Regions from separate parts of the Homo sapiens genome. Here all the other regions are linked to region 1. Evidence: promoter capture Hi-C in 16 types of primary human blood cells and fetal thymus (Javierre and others, 2016). All regions are on one chromosome and are shown on one strand. Each heading gives the region's core, a stretch centred on a gene start or on the middle of the fragment in contact. The rest is flanking DNA. Distances are from core to core; before and after follow the strand shown. Region 1 holds the start of MRPL42 (mitochondrial ribosomal protein L42). Region 2 has its middle 15 kb from the start of EEA1. Region 3 overlaps EEA1 (early endosome antigen 1). Region 4 has its middle 72 kb from the start of PLXNC1.

Region 1 (4,314 bases), core at 1,755-4,254:
CACGTAACAAACCTGCACATGTACGCCCGAATCTAAAATAAAAAATAAAAATAAAAAGTTGGCTCACATAGTTTAATATAAAAAGGCAAACCTACTGTTGCCTTCTATACATGTCTACTTTAGAAATGGAAAGCTTCCTATAAGAGCTGTTTATAAGAGCTATAAACTCTGTTTACAGACAGGAAAAGGAAAAAGAAAGCACAGTTGGCTGAGAAAAAAGACTTTAATACTCTATTTACTTATTTGGGTCCATGCTTTGACTGTCAAACATGTATTAACAAGCTTTCGAGAAAATACTAACTATATACAGTTCTTTAGAAAAGAAAGGCAGAAATTACATTTCATTTTTTTAAAAATGGCTAGGTACATAGAAAAAACACAATGACAATCCACCAAAATATTAACAATGATTATCTTTGGAAGATGGGACTGTGAATTTACCCTTTATTCGCACATTTTAAGAAATACTAAAAAAGTAATCACGCCACTGCACTCCAGCCTGGGCGACAGAGCCAGACTCCGTTAAAAAAAAAAAAAAGAGAGAAATACTAAAAAAGTAATACATGTAATCGAACAAGAGAAAGTTACCCTTGACCAGTCCCTTACTCCTGCCCTCAGCCAAATCCCAAGAGTGGGCTACACAGATAACCACTGTTTGGTCCAGACCTTTTACCTCTGCATTTATGCATATGCACACATGCATATGATGGATCATCTTTTAAACATACAAATAAGATCATATGATAGATATATATAGATGTGGTTCTGACATGCTTTTTTTGTTTCTATTTGGAGATCTTTCCATGTCAGTAACAGCTACATGACAGTCACAGTTCAGATGTACCATAATTTATCCATTCCCCTCCCCAACCCACATTTTTTTTTAGAGGTGGGGGTCTTGCTATGTTGCCCAGGCTGGTCTCAAACCCCTGGCCTCAAGCAATCCTCCCACCTCAGCCTCCCAAAGTGCTGGGATTACAGGCATGAGACACCACATCTGACCTATCCATTCCCCTTCTGACTGACATTTAGGTTTTCTCCCACTTTCCATTGCTGCAAACACTCCTGCAAATTACAGGCATATACAATAACTAAATGCTTTAAATTTTCTTAATTCTTAAAAGTTTAAAAGTTTTTAAACATTAAAAAAAATTTCACTTACTTTGGACTGGAAATAAATGTTTCAAGATAGTTCTCTTTGACATCACCCATTTTACTGCAGCTACAGCCATGGTGTTTCAAGATGCTTATCAAGTGGTATGAAAAAAGATGTTCTGAAGAGAAACTGCTTTTAGAATCTGCTTCTAAGCATACCAATTTCTACTCCTGCTGAAGAGATAAAGAAAAATCAGTGCTACCTATGGTAAATTTAAGTTATATTAAACACCACAAGAACAAGGTAAGAATCACTGCCTAGAAGTCAACTGAAGCAATGCTTTTAAACAACTTGGCAATTCCACATGATTGAACAACAGGACGAAGAGCGACATGGACAGAATATAAGATCAGAACCACTGGAACTATGTCCATTACTATTTATCTTAGATACAAACTTCTCTGCAGGACCCAGTGCAGCTCCTTCCACTTAATGAATACTCAGTAAATGTGTAATTACTCTTGAAACAGTCACTCACAAATGGTACACAGAGTATTCATTCTTTTAATGCTAGTGTGGCTGTGTACACCCTCCAAGGTTCCATACACAAGATACTACATCATTTACAGTACTATCCTGTTTCTGATTAAATGAAATAGTTGTCTGCCCTGAGCCATTAATAATAATAATAATAATAAAGAAATATCAAACAAGGCCTATCCTTAGCCTATTACTCAATTGGAGGAACTCATAAATGCCCTCAAGTCCCAGATAAAATTTCACCATCTTATATGTGTACAAAGTCTTTAACTTTCCAACGTACTTTCACCACCATTTCATTTTGCTCTCGTATTAATCATGTGAGGTATCTTTATTCTGATTCATGAAGAAACTAAAGTACAAAATTTAAACGTCTTGCTTCCAAGGACTTTAGAGTCAGTCACTGCCAAATTGGGAAACTTTAAACAAGTCATTAACTAAACGATCCTCAGTTTCTCCAATGACAAAATGGGGAAAACCACAATCTTCATGGCCTGTTGTGAATAAATGACAAATAACCATTGTTAAATCTTGTTTTTAATAGTCTTCAATGAGTATCCGTGCCCTTCCCCCCAATAGTGATAAAAGAGAATTAGGACACAGGCCCTCTTATTTGCTAGTCTAAACCACTCACACTGATACCTTGCACTGCCAGTACATTAACACCGTTAACCCTGAGCTCATAGGTGTGCTTTTTAGTTTACAACCCACTTTCATATACAATATGTGCTCTGACTTTCACAAGTGTGTGAAGCAGCATCTCCATTTCAGATTAAGAACAAAGGCTCAGAGAGGTCAATCGATTACTTGCTCAGTATATCGCTGCTTAATACATGCGTGGGACGTAAACCCATGACTTCTGACCACGAATAAAACATCTTGGGGGAAATTAGGTCCCCTCTGTCCGAAGCCCAGAGAAAAGCACGCCCTGCTGGGAGTCAGATTATTCACCCCAGGAAGATCATTTCAGAGATCAAGTCCCTCAGCCCGGAATTCAACCCCAAAACAAAAGCTACAGAGCCTCTGAGGGTCAGAGGTTTGAGGAACAGGCTACCAAGAGCACCAGAACTCTTCGACCTAAAGGAGTCCCTAGAGCCACAAGCTGCATCACCTCCCCACGGGCGTCCGCCAGGGAACAAAGGGGGCGCTATAAGAAACGCGCAGCCACATGCCGGCTCTTCTGCAGGAAGGACAAAGGCTGGGGATGCAGGCAACCTCGCCCTGCCGGGAACGACAGGCGGGAGACCTCTACAACTGCCGACCAACACTGTGGGACTGCCCAGTTTCGAGGAAGTCCTCGACAGGAGGAGTAGAGGGAAGCGGTTACCTTGACGGCTTCTCACCACGAACCCGCCATCTTGTTTCAATCCTGGTCCCACGAAACAGCGCTGCGCGCGCCGTCCCAGCCCGCGGGGCATTCTGGGAAATGTAGTCTCCGCGGGAAAGCGGCCCGGGTGCAGAGAGAAAGGGAGGATTGTTGCTATGGACTTTTACCTTTAGTTGGGGAAGCGTGGCCGCAGTGTTACTAAGGTGCCCAGAAAAACAAAATCACTGCCCCAAACACATACCCTTAGAAAGTAACAAGCTTTTTTTTTTTTTTTTTTTTGTGAGGCAGTCTCATTCTGTCACCCAGACTGGAGTGCAATGGCTCCCTCACGGCTCACTGCAGCCTCTACCTCCTGGGCCCAAGAGAGCCTCCCACCTCAGCCTCCTGAGTAGCTGGTACTACAGGCGCACACCACCACACCCAGCTAATTTTTTAATATTTTTGTAGAGACGAGGTCTCGGTATGTTGCCCAGGCTTGTCTCAAGCAATCCTCCTGCCTCGGCGTCCCAAAGTGCTGGAATTACAGGCATGAGCCACCATGCAAACCTATAAGTACTTTTTAAAAAAATTATGTTAATATTCAGAGAAATCGTAGATTGCTCTTTAGTAGATGAGTTAAAGTTTCCCAGGGGAAGAGACATTCCAGAGAAGCCCTGAAATGTGGAGGCTAGGATTTGGACGTTTGAAATCAGAACCTGAAGAGAACCTCCACTCTGAAAACCTGGCACTGTGCCCTCAGAACTGTGCTGGCTACCTATTATGGGAGGAAGTAAATATGCAGAATCTTGGACCTCGCTTTCCATCTTAGGAGGAAGGAAAGACCTCTGGGCCTTTGCACTCTCTGTTCCCATTGCCAGCAATGTGCTTCTCTGACCTCTTCTCATGACCTTACAGGTCTTTCTCAAATATCATCTTAGAAAGGACCACACCATTAAAATAGCCTCACCCACCCTTATTCCATGCCCCGCTTTATTTTCCTTCAGAATATTTACCATTACCTGACTTTATATTGATTATTTGTTTGCTCGTTGAATGTCTCTTTCTTTTTTTTTTTTTTTTTGAGACGGAGTCTTGCTCTATCGCCCAGGCCGGAGTGCAGTGGCATGATCTCAGCTCACTGCAACCTCCGCCTCTCAGCTTCAAGCGATTCTCCTGCCTCAGCTTCCTAATTAGCTGGGATTACAGGTGGCCACCACCACGCCCAGCTAATTTCTGTATTTTTAGTAGAGATGGGGTTTCGCCATGTTTGCCCGGCTGATCTCGAACTCCTTACCTCAGGTGATATGCCCACCTCGGCCTCTCAAAGGGCTGGATTACAGGCGTGAGCCACCACACCCAACCTCGTTTAATG
Region 2 (4,332 bases), core at 568-3,067, 520 kb after region 1:
TTAATAGAGACGGGATTTCACCGTGTTAGCCAGCATGGAAAAATTTTTTCTTATTTATTTATTCCACACATACTTTTAAGTACATTCTATGTGCTAGGCAGTGTTCTAGGCATTGGGGATATAGCAGTGTACAGAAGTGGGAAAATGTTCTAATGGAGAAGACAGCAAACAAAGTAAATATATAAGATATGCAATATAATAGATAGTGATAATTGGTAAAGATGTAAGAGCAGAAAGTAAATTGTAGAAAACCAGATAGTGATGCAAATAATCATTGTGTAATATAAGTGCAAATAACCTTTGTCCCATAGAGATGCAGATGTTGTGAGGCTGGTAAACAGACTACAACCCAACAGTTAGTTTTATTACCCTATGCGGCACTAACCAGTTTTTATGTAATTTAGTAATCGTAGTCTAGCATTTTTGTTTGTTCTAGTATAGTCTAGCATTTGTTTTTTCTTTCAGTGACTACCTGTCCTATGCCCCTTTGAATTGGCTTTCTCCTGTTGTTGACTCTCTTATCTATGAGCTCTTTGATTTTGTTTTTGGATTTTTTTTTTTTTTGAGACAGGGTCTTGCTCTGTCAGCCAGGCTGCTGGAATGTAGTGGTGCAATCATGGCTCACTGCAACTTTGCCCTCCTGGGCTCAAGCAATCCTTCTGCTTCAGCCTCCTGAGTAGCTGGGACCACAGGCACATGCCACCACAGGTGGCTAAGTTCTTTTTATTTTTAGTAGAGACAAGGTCTCACTATGTTGCCCAGGCTGGTCTCAAACTCCTGGGCTCAAGCAATCCTCCTGTCTCGGCCTCCCAAAGTGTTGGGATTACAGATGTGAGCCAGCATGCTCAGACAACTCTTTATATACGTACTAGATGAGAGCCATGGTTTTAGCTTTTTAAAAATTATACAATGACACATGGAATGCACTTTATATGCTTCTGATTTGTTATACATTTTTTAATGAGCGAACAAAAACCTAAAATATATATACTAAAAATGAAACAATAGAGATAAAAAAACAAACTTCCTTGTGGATTGATTTTCTACATTCTAATGTTGATAGACTGTTAGGCATTAGAAATTAAAATTATGAAGACCATAGAGTTATATGTGATGAAAGCTTATGAGAATGTTTTTTAAAAAATATATAGATAAAAAAGTAAATAAAACATTTAAACTCCTAGAATAATATTGCCTCTTTACTAGTGTAACCAGCATACTAGGTATTTAAGTATTAGAAATCATTGACACTGCAGGCTCTCGAGTCAGGTTGTCTGGTTTTAAATCTTTGCTCAATCACTTCTTAATTTGGGCAAGTTATTTAATCTTTTTAAACCTCATGACTAGCCAGGCACAGTGGCTTAAGCCTGTAATCCCATCACTTTGGGAGGCTGAGGCAGGCAGATCACCTGAGGTCGGGAGTTCGAGACCAGCCTGACCAACATGGAGAAACCCTGTCTCTAATAAAAATACAAAATTAGCCAGGTGTGGTGGCGCATACCTGTAATCCCAGCTACTCAGGAAGCTGAGGCAAGAGAATCGCTTGAACCTGGGAGGCAGAGGTTGTGGTGAGCCAAGATCACGCCATTGCACTCCAGCCTGGGCAACAAGAGCGAAACTCCGTCTCAAACAAACAATCACAACAACAAAACACCTCATTACTTTTTACCTCACAGGATTGTTGTGAGGAATAAATGAAATAAGTAAGAAGCTTAGACGGTGCTACCAAATGCTTAGTTACAAACTTTCTGTTTAGTTATTTTTATCTTTGCAATGAAAAGTTACAATATATAAAGTAATACAGAGCAAGTAAATAACCAATGCAACTTCCTATTATCATAAATTACTTTTAAAATCATATACAATGTTTGCAAAGTTCAACAGAATGTTACTCAGTGTTGAAACATTCTTACCAAAGCTTCTTTAAAGTCAAAACATTGATTTTAAAAAGAAACACAAAGCTTCTTTAAAGTCAAAATATTGATTAATTTTTATCCACCAAAAGAGTCTTGTATTTTATCTTTATTTTATTGAATTACAGAACATTTTACAACCAACCACAGGTAAACTGTGTTGTCCAGTGAAACTCAGGTCAACCACAGGTAAATTGTGTTGTCCAGTGAAACCCAGGTTTCAACACAAACGATACCTCTTTTGCATGGGGAAAAAAAAAAAAAAAAAAAAAAAAAAAAACCTCAACAAAAAACTTCCTAAGTTAACTGTTGCTTAAGTTGCTTGAGTAAGCAAGTTAAAATATAAAGAAAAGCTCTGGCAAGAATTTCTTTAGAGGATTTACACTTAAACCAAATTTTAGTAGTTATTCTTCAAACCACAGAAACAAGACACGAAAATAAAAATTCAACAGAATGAAACAAAACAAGAGTAGATATGGCTCCCTCTACACTGTAGGCATAGTTATTCAAGCCAAGTTCCCACTAGAGGTCAGAAGCTACTATGCAAGCTTGAAAAATGACTTGGTGTTTCCGAATGCCTTCAGCTTTTAAAAATGGCTTGCTCTTTCCAAGTGTTTTCAACTTTTTAACTCAGAGCAAAAGGTACAATAGATCCCTTTAATCTACTCTACCTCACAGTATTTAAAATTTAGCAAGATTGTCAATATGGAGGGACAAATATATATTGTTTTTGTTTCTAGAGACAGAGACTCACTCTGTCGTCCAGGCTGGAATGCAATTGCTCCATCACGGCTCACTGCAACCTCAGCCTCCTGGGCTCAAGCAATCCTCCCACCTCAGCCTTCCGAGTAGCCAGGACTATAGGCATGGGCCAATATGCTGAGCTAATTTTTTTGGCATTTGTTGTACAGGCAGAGTTTCATCATGTTGTCCAGGCTGGACTCGAACTCCTGGACAAATATATTTATTAACCTAATAATACTGTAACTGCCCAGTGGGTTCTCCTTGCCCACTGTCCAAACAGAGATGATTTATTAAGACAGGGGAATTGGAATACAGAAAGAGTTTAATTCACACAGAGCGAGCTGAATGGAAGACTAGAGTTTTATTACTGAAATCAGTCCCCCCCAAAATTTAGAGACTGCATTTTTTTAAGGATAGTTTGGTGGGTAGAGGGCCAGGGAGTGGAGAGTGCTGATTGATCAGGAGGTGCCAGCTGATGCACCATAATGCAGGGTCTAAAAAATATCTTGAGCACCAATCTCAGGTTTTACAATAGTAATATTATCCCTAGGAGCAACTGGGGAGGGTTGAAATCCTGTGGCTTCTGGCTGCATGGCTCCTAAGCCATCATTTCTAATCTTGTGGTTAATATGTTAGTCTTACAAAGGCAGTCTGGTCCCCCTGGCAAGAAGGAGGTTTGTTTCAGGAAACTGCTGTTATCATCTTTGTTTCAAAGTTAGACTATAAATTAAATTCCTCCCAAAGTTAGTTTGGCCTGCACCCAGGAATGAAGAAGGGCAGCTTGGAGAGTGTAAGCAAGCTGGAGTCAGTCAGGTCAGACCTCTTTCATAATTTTCTCAGTGTTTATTTTTGCGAAGGTGGTTTCAATACCCCTAACTTTTCTACTTAAAATTACGATATATGCTATTTCAGACTTTTTCTTCAGTATATGAAAGGGTTTAAAGATTTTTGTCACTTCTCATAAAAAAACTAAATTATTTATTAGTTTTACATTTCTTCCCATCATGTTATGCAGTAACAACATATATAGCGCAGTTTCTTGAGTGAATTGAGGAAAGAAATATAGCTCAGAGCAATCTGAGCTATGTGAGGTCTGCAAGAGGTGCCAGGCCCAGAGAGACATGAGTATGTGACTTTAGTCACATCCTACAACCCCCCACCATCTTGCATCTATGCCCAGGGGTAATTGTTTTTTGTTTGGGTTTTTGTTTTGACACAGGGTCCTGCTCTGTTTCCCAGGCTGGAATACAATGGCATGATCTCAACTCACTGCAGCCTCGACCTCCCTGGCTCAAGTGATTCTCCCCACTCAGCTTCAAGAGTAGCTGGGACTACAGGTGCATGCCACCATGTCTGGCTAATTTTTGTGTGAGTGTGAAGATGTGGTCTCACCATGTTGCCCAGGCTGTGCTCAAGCAATCTTCCTTTCTTGGTCTCCCAAAGTTCTCGCATTATAGGCATGAGCCAACGTGCCCTTTATCAGGTTTTTTGTTTTTTCAGACAGGGTCTCACTCTGTTGCCCAGGCTGAAGTTCAGTGGCATGATCATGGCTTTTGTTGCCCCGGCTGGTCTTTAACTCCTGGGCTCGAGGGATCCTCCTGCCTTGGCCTCCCAAGGTGTTGGGATTACAGGTGTGAGCCACCGTGCCCAGTCAGGGACAATTGTTTAAAGGCAT
Region 3 (4,868 bases), core at 1,003-3,502, 560 kb after region 1:
CCTTAACTCTTGGCAAACATTGATCTTTTCACTTTTTTCATAGTTTTGCCTTTTCCAGAAATCCATATAATTGGAATCTTACAGTATGTAGCATTTTCAGATTGGCTCCTTTCACTTTGTATTTCACTTAGTAATATATGTTTAAGTTTCTTCATTGTCTTCATGGCTTAATAGCTCATTTCTTTTTAACGCTGGAGAATATTGTCTGGGTGTACTAGTAAGTTATTGATTCACCCGCTGGGGGACATCTTGGTCAATTACAAGCTTTAGCTATTATGAATAAAGCTACTTTAAACTTCTATGTCCACGTTTTGGTGTGGACAGAAGTTTTTAGCTCATTTGGGTAAATACCAAGGAGTGTGATTACTGAATTGTATAGTAAGAGTATGTTTAGTTTTGTAAGGAACTACCAAACTGTCTTCCAAAGTAGCTGTAACATTTTGTATTTCCACCAGCAATGAATTCCTGTTCCTATTTCTCCACATCCTTGTCAGCATTTGATGGTGGTAGTGTTCTGGATTTTGGCCATTCTACTAGCTGTGTTGTGGTATCCCATTGTTTTAATTTGCATTACCCTGATGGTGTATGCTGTGGAGCAACTTTTCATATGCATATTTGCCATCTGTATATCTTCTTTTGTAAGATGCCTGTCTATTAAGGTCTTTGCCTTATTTTTAAATTAGATTGTTTATTTTTTTACTGTTGAATTTAAAGAGTTGTTTGTATATTTTGGATAATAGTCCATTATCAGGTTTGTCTTTTGTAAATATTTTTCTCCAGTCTGTGACTTGTCTTTTTACTCTTGACAATGTCTTTTGAAGAGCTGACATTTTAAATTTTAATGAAGTCCAGCTTATTAATTCTTTCTTTCATGGATTGCGCCTTTGGTGTTCTACCTAAAAAAATAATGGACAAACCACAGTAATTTCTCCTATGTTATCTTCTAGGGTTTATAGTTTTGTGTTTTACATTTAGGTTTGTGATCCATTTTGAGTTTATTTATTTATTTTTTTTTGAGATGGAGTCTTGCTCTGTCGCCCAGGCTGTAGTGCAGTGGCATGATCTTGGCTCACTGCAACCTCCGCCTCCCGAGTTCAAGCGATTCTCCTGCCTCAGCTTCCTGGGTAGCTGGGATTACAGGTGCGCACCACCATGCCCGGCTAATTTTTGTATTTTTAGTAGAGATGGGTTTCACCATGTCGGTCAGGCTGGTCTTGAACTCCTGACCTCGTGATCTGCCCATCTCGGCCTCCCAAAGTGCTGGGATTATAGGTGTGAGCCACCGCGCCTGACCTTGAGTTAATTTTTTAAAATTAAAATTTAATTAATTTATTTATTTTTGAGATGGAATCTTGCTCTGTTGCCGAGGCTGGAGTGCAGTGGCGTGATCTTGGCTCACTGCAACCTCCACCTTTTGGGTTCAAGTGATTCTTCTGCCTCAGCCTCTCAAGTAGCTGGGATTACAGGTGGCTGCTACCACACCTGGCTAATTTTTGTATTTTTAGCAGAGACAAGGTTTCTCCACATTGACCAGGCTGGTCTCAAACTCCTGACCTCCGGTGATCTACCCTTCTCGGTCTCCCAAAGTGCTGGGATTACAGGCGTGAGCCACTGTGCCCAACCTAAATTTATTAAGGCGGGGTCTCACCATGTTGCCCAGGCTGGTCTTGGGCTCCTGAGCTCAAGTGATCCTCCTACCTCGGCCTCCCAAAGTGCTGGGATTACAGGTGTCAGCCACCATGCTCGGCCACAAGCTTGTCTTTATAACAAAGCCATTCCCATGATAACTGATCCATGTTCACAATAATGGCAATCCATTCATGAGGGTGGAACTCCCATGACCTAGTCACCTTTTAAAGGCCTCACTTCTCAATACCATTACATTTGCAATTAAATTTCAACATGAGTTTTGGTGGGGACATTCAAGCGATAACAGCTATCTTTTCTCATTTTATTGCCTTTGTTCCATTGTCAAAGATTAGTTGACTAACTCATGGATTTTTATATTATGAACTCACGGATTTACATATGTTTAGCATGTTTCAGTCAATTACAGTCAATGTGTTTTGCTGATGTGAAAATGATCTCAGCTTTAGCTACTGGGAGTACCTTCAAGGTGACGTTTGTCATTTTGACAGGACCTTATTTGTGTTCAAAAAGCTTCCTTGCTTTTTGGCACAATAATATGTTTCAGATTTATCTTGTAAATTCCCTCTCCCATGTCTGGAATCAGCCATTTCTCTAGAAAATTCTGGTTCCTTTGAGTGGGGAGTGATGGTTAGAGACCATAGTATAAGCACGTAGGGTGCGCTTTGCTTTTGGGTTGTCTTTGCTTTTAAGCTTTTGAATGATAAGAATTATTGTTAAGAAACAGGGCTGGGCGCGGTGGCTCATGCCTGTAATCCCAGCACTTTGGGAGGCCGAGGCAGGCAGATCACAAGTCAGGAGTTCAAGACCATCCTGGCTAACACGGCGAAACCCCATCTTTACTAATTAGCTGGGTGTGGTGGTGCACGCCTGTAATCCTAGCTACTCAGGAGGCTGAGGCAGGAGAATTGCTAGAACTTGGGAGGCGGAGGTTGCAGTGAACTGAGATTGTACCACTGCACTCCAGCTTGGGTGAGAGAGCCAGACTCTGTCTCAGGAAAAAAATGAAACAAAAACCCAAATGATAATTCAAATTTAAGATATAAAATGGTTTTTTACTTATTTGATTCTGTATTTATATCATTTTTTCTTATACTGAATATCTTGGTTCTTAACATTAGCAAATGTTTTTTGCTAAAATATACATAAATAGCTTTAAAATTAACAATATGAATATTATGGCTAAGATTATTGAATTAATTTTACTGTTTCTTTTTTTAGCAATTTTTTTTGGCTTTGTGCTATATCCCAAAAGGATATGTAGTAGAAACTCTGCATTCTTAAATACTTAAAATAATTATTTTGTCTGTATGGTAATGCCTGCAATATAATACTTATTTAGGTTTTAAAAAAATTTTTTTTAAATTATGACAAAATATACGTAATTTAAAAGATACAATTTTTACCATTTTTAAGTGTATAATCCAGTGGCATGAAATGTATTCACGTTGTTGTACAATCATTACAACTAAACTCCATACTCATAAAACAATAACTCTTCATTCCTCCCCTCCCCTGAACCCACTGTAACCACAATTCCACTTCCTGTCACTATGAATTTAACTGTTCTAGGTACCTCATATAAGTGGAATTATACGATAGTGATCCTTTTGTGTCTGGTTTATTTCACTTAGCATAATTATTTCTAGCTTCATGTTGCAGCATGTTATCAGAATTTTCTTCCTTTTAAAGGCTGAATAATATTTCATTGTGGATGTATATACTACCTTTTGTTTATCCATTCATCCGTTGACAGACATTGGATTATTTACATGTTTTAGCTATTGTGAATAATGCTGCTATGAACATTGGTGTGCAAATATCTGTTTTAGTTCATTTAGGTTTTAATTTTTGTTTGTTTGTTTGTTTGGAGACAGTCTCACTCTGTCACCCAGGCTGGAGCGCAGTGGTGTGATCTCAGTGCACTGCAACTTCCGCCTCCTGGGTTCAAGTGATTCTCCTGCCTCAGCCTCCCAAGTAGCTGGGATAACAGGTGCCCATCACCATGCCTGGTTAATAGTTCATTTAGGTTTTAACTGAAGTTCTTGATAAATGAGGATATTATTGACTAAGCTGGAGAACATAGTGAGGAAAGTAAACTTTTTCCTAGGATGGTAAAGTGTTGAGATGAATGAAGAGTTTGGTTTGGTTACAATGCTTTGAGAAATCCATTGCTTGATTTCTTAGTAAACAACTACAAATGTGGATGTAGAGGTATAGAGTGCTATATTAGGTCTCTTTTATCGTCCAGGTGAGAGATGATTGCAACATGAATTAAGGTAGTGGCCAAGGAGATGGAGAAAGGGGGATAGATTCAAAATTTAAGTGGGCAGTTGAATTAACTTGGTGATTGGATGTGAAGGTTAAGGAATAGAGACAAGTAAGAGTGATGCCTTGGATTTAGGCAAAATGAGTGTGTGATGGTTCTATAATCTGAGATGGAGAATGTAGATGGGTGAAAGCTTTGAGCAAAGATAAATGAATTTGGTTTTGAATAAGCTGACTTTGTGGTGCTCTCAAGGCATTCAATTAGATATATTTGGCAGGACAGGAAAATATGAATTGGAAACTCAGCAAAGGTCTGGATTAAAGTTAGTGTTTTATTATTTTCAGCAATGGTGTTAATGAAAATTAAGGGAGTAAATGAATTTACCTAAAGAGTATGTGATAAGCTAAGAGGTCAAGTATGAAAACTCCCTGGGAACCCCTCAATTACTTTACATGAATTTTTTTTCATGAAATAGTATTTGTTATTTGCAAAGATAACTTCTCGCTTTATCTATATGTTACGTTTTTAGCTCTTAATAGTAGAAAAGGGTTAGTGAGAGCCCTTTGTCTATCCATTTAGTATAAGGCTTGCATAATGTATTTAAAGCATTGTTCTTAAGGTCTGCATATAGTAAATGGCTTTTCAAACTTTTTGTGAAAATCTTTCTAATTTGTTTTTATGGTGGGATGCAGATGAAATAGAGTAACAAAATCAGTGTTGAAAGTTACATTTTATTTAATTTTTTTTTTATTTTGAGACAGAGTCTAGCTCTGTCACCCAGGCTGGAGTGCAGTGGCGCAATCTTGGCTCACTGCAAGCTCCACCTCCTGGGTTCATGCCATTCTCCTGCCTCAGCCTCCCCAGTAGCTGGGACTACAGGCGCCCGCCACTATGCCCGGCTAACCTTTTTTGTGTTTTTAGTAGAGACGGGGTTTCACCGTGTTAGCCAGGA
Region 4 (4,829 bases), core at 253-2,752, 610 kb before region 1:
AGTGTTTGTTAAAACACAAAAACAGCAAAACACTATCTCCCTTTACCTCCTGCTCCCCTCCAATTACTGTCTTATCTCTGTGTCTCCTTAGACAGCATTCTTGCCAGAGGACATCATGCCTCCACCTTGAACTCCTCACTGTCCCCGGGTGGTCTCACCCATTCCCATGGTTTCAAATAGACGAACTATGGGCCAATGACTCAAATCTCAAGTCTTCATCTTGAACTCAAGGCTCATATCTAGCTGCTAACTGCGCATGTCCACTTGAAGGTCCCCACAGGCCTTCAATGTGTCCACATCAAGGTGTCAAAAGCTGAGCTCATTACCTGCCTCTCAAACTTCTGCTTCCTGGATTTCCTGAATTAGTGAGTGGTACCACCTTTCATCCAAGTTAGAAACCTGGAAATGAGATTTTTTTCCTCCCTTTCTCACCTGATCACAGAGTCTGCAGGTCTGCCATTCTAACATCTGTCCATGCCTAATCATTCCCCACTGCCAGTACCTTGACTCTGTCTTCTTTTATCTTTCACCAGAATTATTGCAATAGTTTTCCAGCTTGTCTTTCTGACTTTGATCTTGTCTTTCAACTACTCTCCTGAGAGTGATCTTTCTAAAGCTCAAATCTTATTGTGAAATTGCCCTGCTTAAAGCCTTTCAACAGCTCCTCATTGTCCTCAAGCTAAAATACAAACTCGTTATCATGGTTCTCCATCTTTGTGATCTGTGATCTGAATGGCATTTAGAACTCCTGCTGAATCTCTCACCTCCCGTTTCAGGCCTGGCCCCACCCCTTGGGTTCATCTTGACTGCAGTTTCCTGAAAACACTGCTTGCTCTTGCCCTCAAAACTTCGGAAGAGCTGGTTTCCTCTAAAACTCTCCACATCCTTATCATCCATCTGCAAACCTACTCAGCCAATTTAGATGTTGCTTCCTCCAGGAAGTCCTCCCTGATGTCCCCTATCCCAGATCAGATTTTCTCCTATGTATCTCTTCACCATGCCCTACCTACTCTTATTGCAGCATGTGTCTTGCTGTCTTGTGCTAGGAATCTACCATCTCTCTTTCCACCATTATGCTGAACACTCCTTATGTGTAGGGAACAGATTTTGTTTATCTTTAGGCCCCAGTTCCTAGAAAAGTTCCTGGTATATAATTGACAGTCAATAAATATTGGCTGAGTGAATACGTGCCTGTATCTGGCTCCTATTTTGGACTTCTTTCTCTTGAAGCTCCTTTAAAAACAAAACTACATAAAACAATAAAAGGACATTAAAAATTACTGTCTTTCTGCCAGGCACGGTGGATCACACCTGTAATCTCAGAACTTTGGGAGGCCAAGGCAGGAGGATCAGTTGAGGCCATGAATTCAAGACCAGCCTGGGTAATATGGTGAGACCCTGTCTGTACAAAGAATAAAAAAATTACCTGGGTGTGGTGGATTGTGTCTTAGTCCCAGCTACTCAGGAGGCTGAAGTGGGAGGATTGCTTGAGCCCAGGAGTTTGAGGCTGCAGTGGGCTATGATTGCGTGACTGCACCCCATCCTGCCTGGGTGACAGAGTGAGAACCTGTCTCAACAACAACAACAAAAATACTGTTCTTCATGAAAAGTATTCTAAGTCGGTGGCTTCCTTCACCTAGCCTCATGTCTTTTTCCAAAATAAAAATAACCCTGCTGGGAATGTTAATAGCTAACTTACCGAGCACTTGACTGTGTGCCAGGCACTTTACTATGCCCTTTGCATGTATAAATCATTTAATCTTCATGACAACCCTACAACTAGGTGTTACCCTTGTCCCTGTTTTACAGGTGAAGAAGCTGAAGAACAGAGTAATTTGCCTAAGGTCATAAGTCTCATACATGGTAGAATGTCCATTAATACTATCAATCCAACCAACACTACATAGATAGAAAACAATGTTTTATTCTTGTGAGAGCTTAAGAACCTGAAATTGTCCAACTGCTCAGAAATTGACTGGCTAGCTGTATTTGGACAGGGGAACTTGTATATTTCTGGGTCCTTTAGGTATTATGATGATTCTAATTCCTTTTCTCTTTCTCTTTGTGAATTCTTACAATAAGGGGCTGAGTTCCTGGGAAGTGGACCCAATAGTGCCAGGAATCTGATAGCATGTTCAGAACCAGCGTGTGCAAACATCCCCCAGAGGCCAGCTGGCTGAGAAATTCTGCTGCCACTGCTCTCTTGCTAATTTATTTTCCATTCACCTTGATCCCTTGTCCTGTAGAAATGTATTTGGGCACAACTAAAAGCCTCTTTCTTCTCACATCTTATTATATTTTTTCCACTTTGTGCCCCACCTGTTTTGACTCAGAGCTGCATGAGGAACCTGGGATTCTCAGGAGATGAGAATCCCAGGTTCCTCTATGGATGAGTGTAATAGTAGCTGTAGTAGTAGTAGGTGTAATAGTGTAATAGTAGGTGCCGTTTATTGAACACTTACTGTGTGCCAGCCACAAGAATTCCTTATAATTATTGAATTTAGTCCTATTGAAGTAGGTATGAGTATCCATTTTAGAGGTGAGGAACCCAAGCCTCAGATGGCTGAAGCGAGCTGCACCACATCTGTATTAGTTCCCCTTGCTGCTGTAACAAATAACACAAATTTAGTGGCTCATAACAATGCAAATTTATTCTTATGATTCTGGAGGTCAGAAGTTCAAAATCAGTCTCAATGGGCTAAAGTCAAGCCTGTGCAGGACTGTTCTTTCTGAAGGATCTAAAGGAGGATGTTTCCTCTCCCTTTTTCAGCTTCTAGAGGCCACTGCATTTTTTGTATTCCTTCCTCACACCATTCCAACCTCCACTTCCATCATCACATCTTCTCTAACTCTGACTCCCCTGCCTCTCTTCGAAGGACCCTTGTGATTATATCTGGGCCATCCAGATAATCTAGGATAATCTCCTCAACTCAAGATCTTTAATGTAATTACATCTGCAAAGTCTCTTTTTCTGTGTAAAGTAATCTATTTATAGGTTCCAAAGGATTGAGACGTGAAGCTCTTTGGGGGACTATTATTCAGCCTACCATACCATAAAGCAGAACTAACATTCCACTAGAAAGCCTACAGCCTTCAAAAGTGATTTTTCTTTAGTGAAGCCCTCTAAACGTATTAAATTCTATTAAATACAAGTCCCAGGTTTGGAAGGGGCCATGTGTTTTGCCTCTATATCTTCTGCAGCTAGAACAGGAATTCTTAGCACTGGCTATATGTTAGAATCACCTGGAGAACTTTTAAAACCTACTTAAGCTAGGATCTACATAAGATCAATTAAAATCAGAATCACTGGAGGTGGGGCTTGAACACTTGGCAGGTTAGAGCATGTCTCCAGGTAGTTCTAATAGGCAGCTAGCTTTGAGACCCATCATGCCAGAGAGAACTGCTGGCAAACGCTTACAACATGCCATGTTCTGGGTCCAAGGAGGAAAAGCTTGGCTATAAAGATGAATGGCAAGAAAATAAACTGGGAAAGCCATTTGTCCCTGGTTTAGTATCCTTGCTTGTGCCATTTCCTAGTTGCATGAGCTAGAGCAAGTTACTTGATTTCTCTGGTCTTTTTTCCATTACTAATAGCTCCCAAAAGTTGTGCAATGACTAACTGAGATCATGAATGAAGAGCCCTTAGCTGAGTGCTGTTAGGTCCCAATAGAGGGCAGTGCAGCCTTTTTTGCATCCCGCCCCCACCCAGCCTTCGGAACAGAGGTTCCTAATAATAGAATTCTCTTGGCTTTAATTTTCCAGCTCAGAGAAGATTAAATTTGCCTCCTTCTTGGTTATGTCTGACTTTCACTTCCTTCTTGGTGTTTTTCTCCACATCTCCCATCTGGGGGTCCTTCCGCACCTTTTAATCATGCTGAGTCTAGGGGGCAGCTGGAAAGACTTCTGATCTTCCAGGCTGCTTTCAGAAGGTCCCAGAATTCCCAGGATGTTACTAGGGTTTCTTGATTGATGTCAAGCAATTAAGCTGTAAACTGCAAAGGGTGACTTTCCTCCCTTAGAAGGAAATCGCTCATGGTATGTGGTTGGGGATGGAGAGCTGAGTTTTCCTTTGGGCTGATACAGTGAGAAGTCTAAAACATGGATGTGGTGGAGAAATGTTTTTAATGGAAAGAGTTCCCAGGGTTGGAAGGAAATGGAAGGAAGCGGCCAAGCTACTTCCTAGTACTGATTTGCTAATGTTGATAGTGCTTGGTGCTTCTTCTAATTCTTTGCTGCCCTCCTTTGCTTCTCCTAGTTCTTGAAGGTATTAGGAAGGGCAAAAGAGATGGAGATGATTCAGCAATTGGAACCGAGCACATTTGGCCCAGCAGGCTGTGCCTCTGACTGTGGGGCCAGGTTAATAGCATTAATGAAAAGCGTTCCCAATTGAGCGAGGGAGCAGGGCTCTGGCAAGGCCACTTTCCATTAGGGACTGCCAAAGCTGATGTCACTGGGAACTTTTCATTTTTCTCTCTCCCTCTAACTTTTTTTAGATGCAGAATGATGGAATAATTCTACTGTCTTGTTTTGCCAAACTTGTTTCTCATCATTCAGGTATATCTGTTTTTCACAAAGTCTATTGTATTACCCAATTCAGTTTTTAAAGATTATTTCTATGTCCCAGCCCACTGCCAACGAGTCAGCAGGCATTTAGCAGACACCCGCTTTGGCTGGGTAGTGAGGTGGAATAACGAAGGGTGCCCAGGCTTGGCGCCTGACGCACAATCATATTGGGAATGTCAGATTCATACGCACAGAATAACGTGGGTAGATGACTGTTAGGAGCGCCCTGAGCAGCGGGAGGTCAGTGAGAACTCTGGTCAGGAAAG

What was found. The method cuts DNA at HindIII sites, captures the fragments that hold promoters and counts their contacts. A CHiCAGO score of 5 or more calls a contact.
Region 2: a fragment that was not itself captured here is called in contact with the fragment with the promoter of MRPL42 in region 1 in 1 of 17 cell types (total B cells); the score reaches 5.3 in total B cells.
Region 3: a fragment that was not itself captured here is called in contact with the fragment with the promoter of MRPL42 in region 1 in 1 of 17 cell types (naive CD4 T cells); the score reaches 5.2 in naive CD4 T cells.
Region 4: a fragment that was not itself captured here is called in contact with the fragment with the promoter of MRPL42 in region 1 in 1 of 17 cell types (fetal thymus); the score reaches 7.2 in fetal thymus.

Annotation. Positions count from the first base shown.
Region 1 is chr12:93,466,204-93,470,517 of GRCh38, reverse strand. It overlaps MRPL42 (mitochondrial ribosomal protein L42), which reads right to left and starts at 3,004. Exons shown (of 6, transcript NM_014050.4): 1 at 2,964-3,004; 2 at 1,163-1,326. The coding sequence starts at 1,232. RefSeq lists enhancers at 2,783-3,052, 3,113-3,172. The HindIII fragment of the contact is 2,939 bases long and covers 285-3,223 here.
Region 2 is chr12:92,942,113-92,946,444 of GRCh38, reverse strand. No RefSeq gene overlaps it. Among named protein-coding and RNA genes, the nearest start is that of EEA1, 15 kb to the right of the region's middle. The HindIII fragment of the contact is 207 bases long and covers 1,714-1,920 here.
Region 3 is chr12:92,906,616-92,911,483 of GRCh38, reverse strand. All of the region lies in intron 1 of EEA1 (early endosome antigen 1), which reads left to right. Among named protein-coding and RNA genes, the nearest start is that of EEA1, 20 kb to the left of the region's middle. RefSeq lists a silencer at 2,104-2,304. The HindIII fragment of the contact is 180 bases long and covers 2,163-2,342 here.
Region 4 is chr12:94,074,320-94,079,148 of GRCh38, reverse strand. No RefSeq gene overlaps it. Among named protein-coding and RNA genes, the nearest start is that of PLXNC1, 72 kb to the left of the region's middle. The HindIII fragment of the contact is 3,902 bases long and covers 1-3,453 here.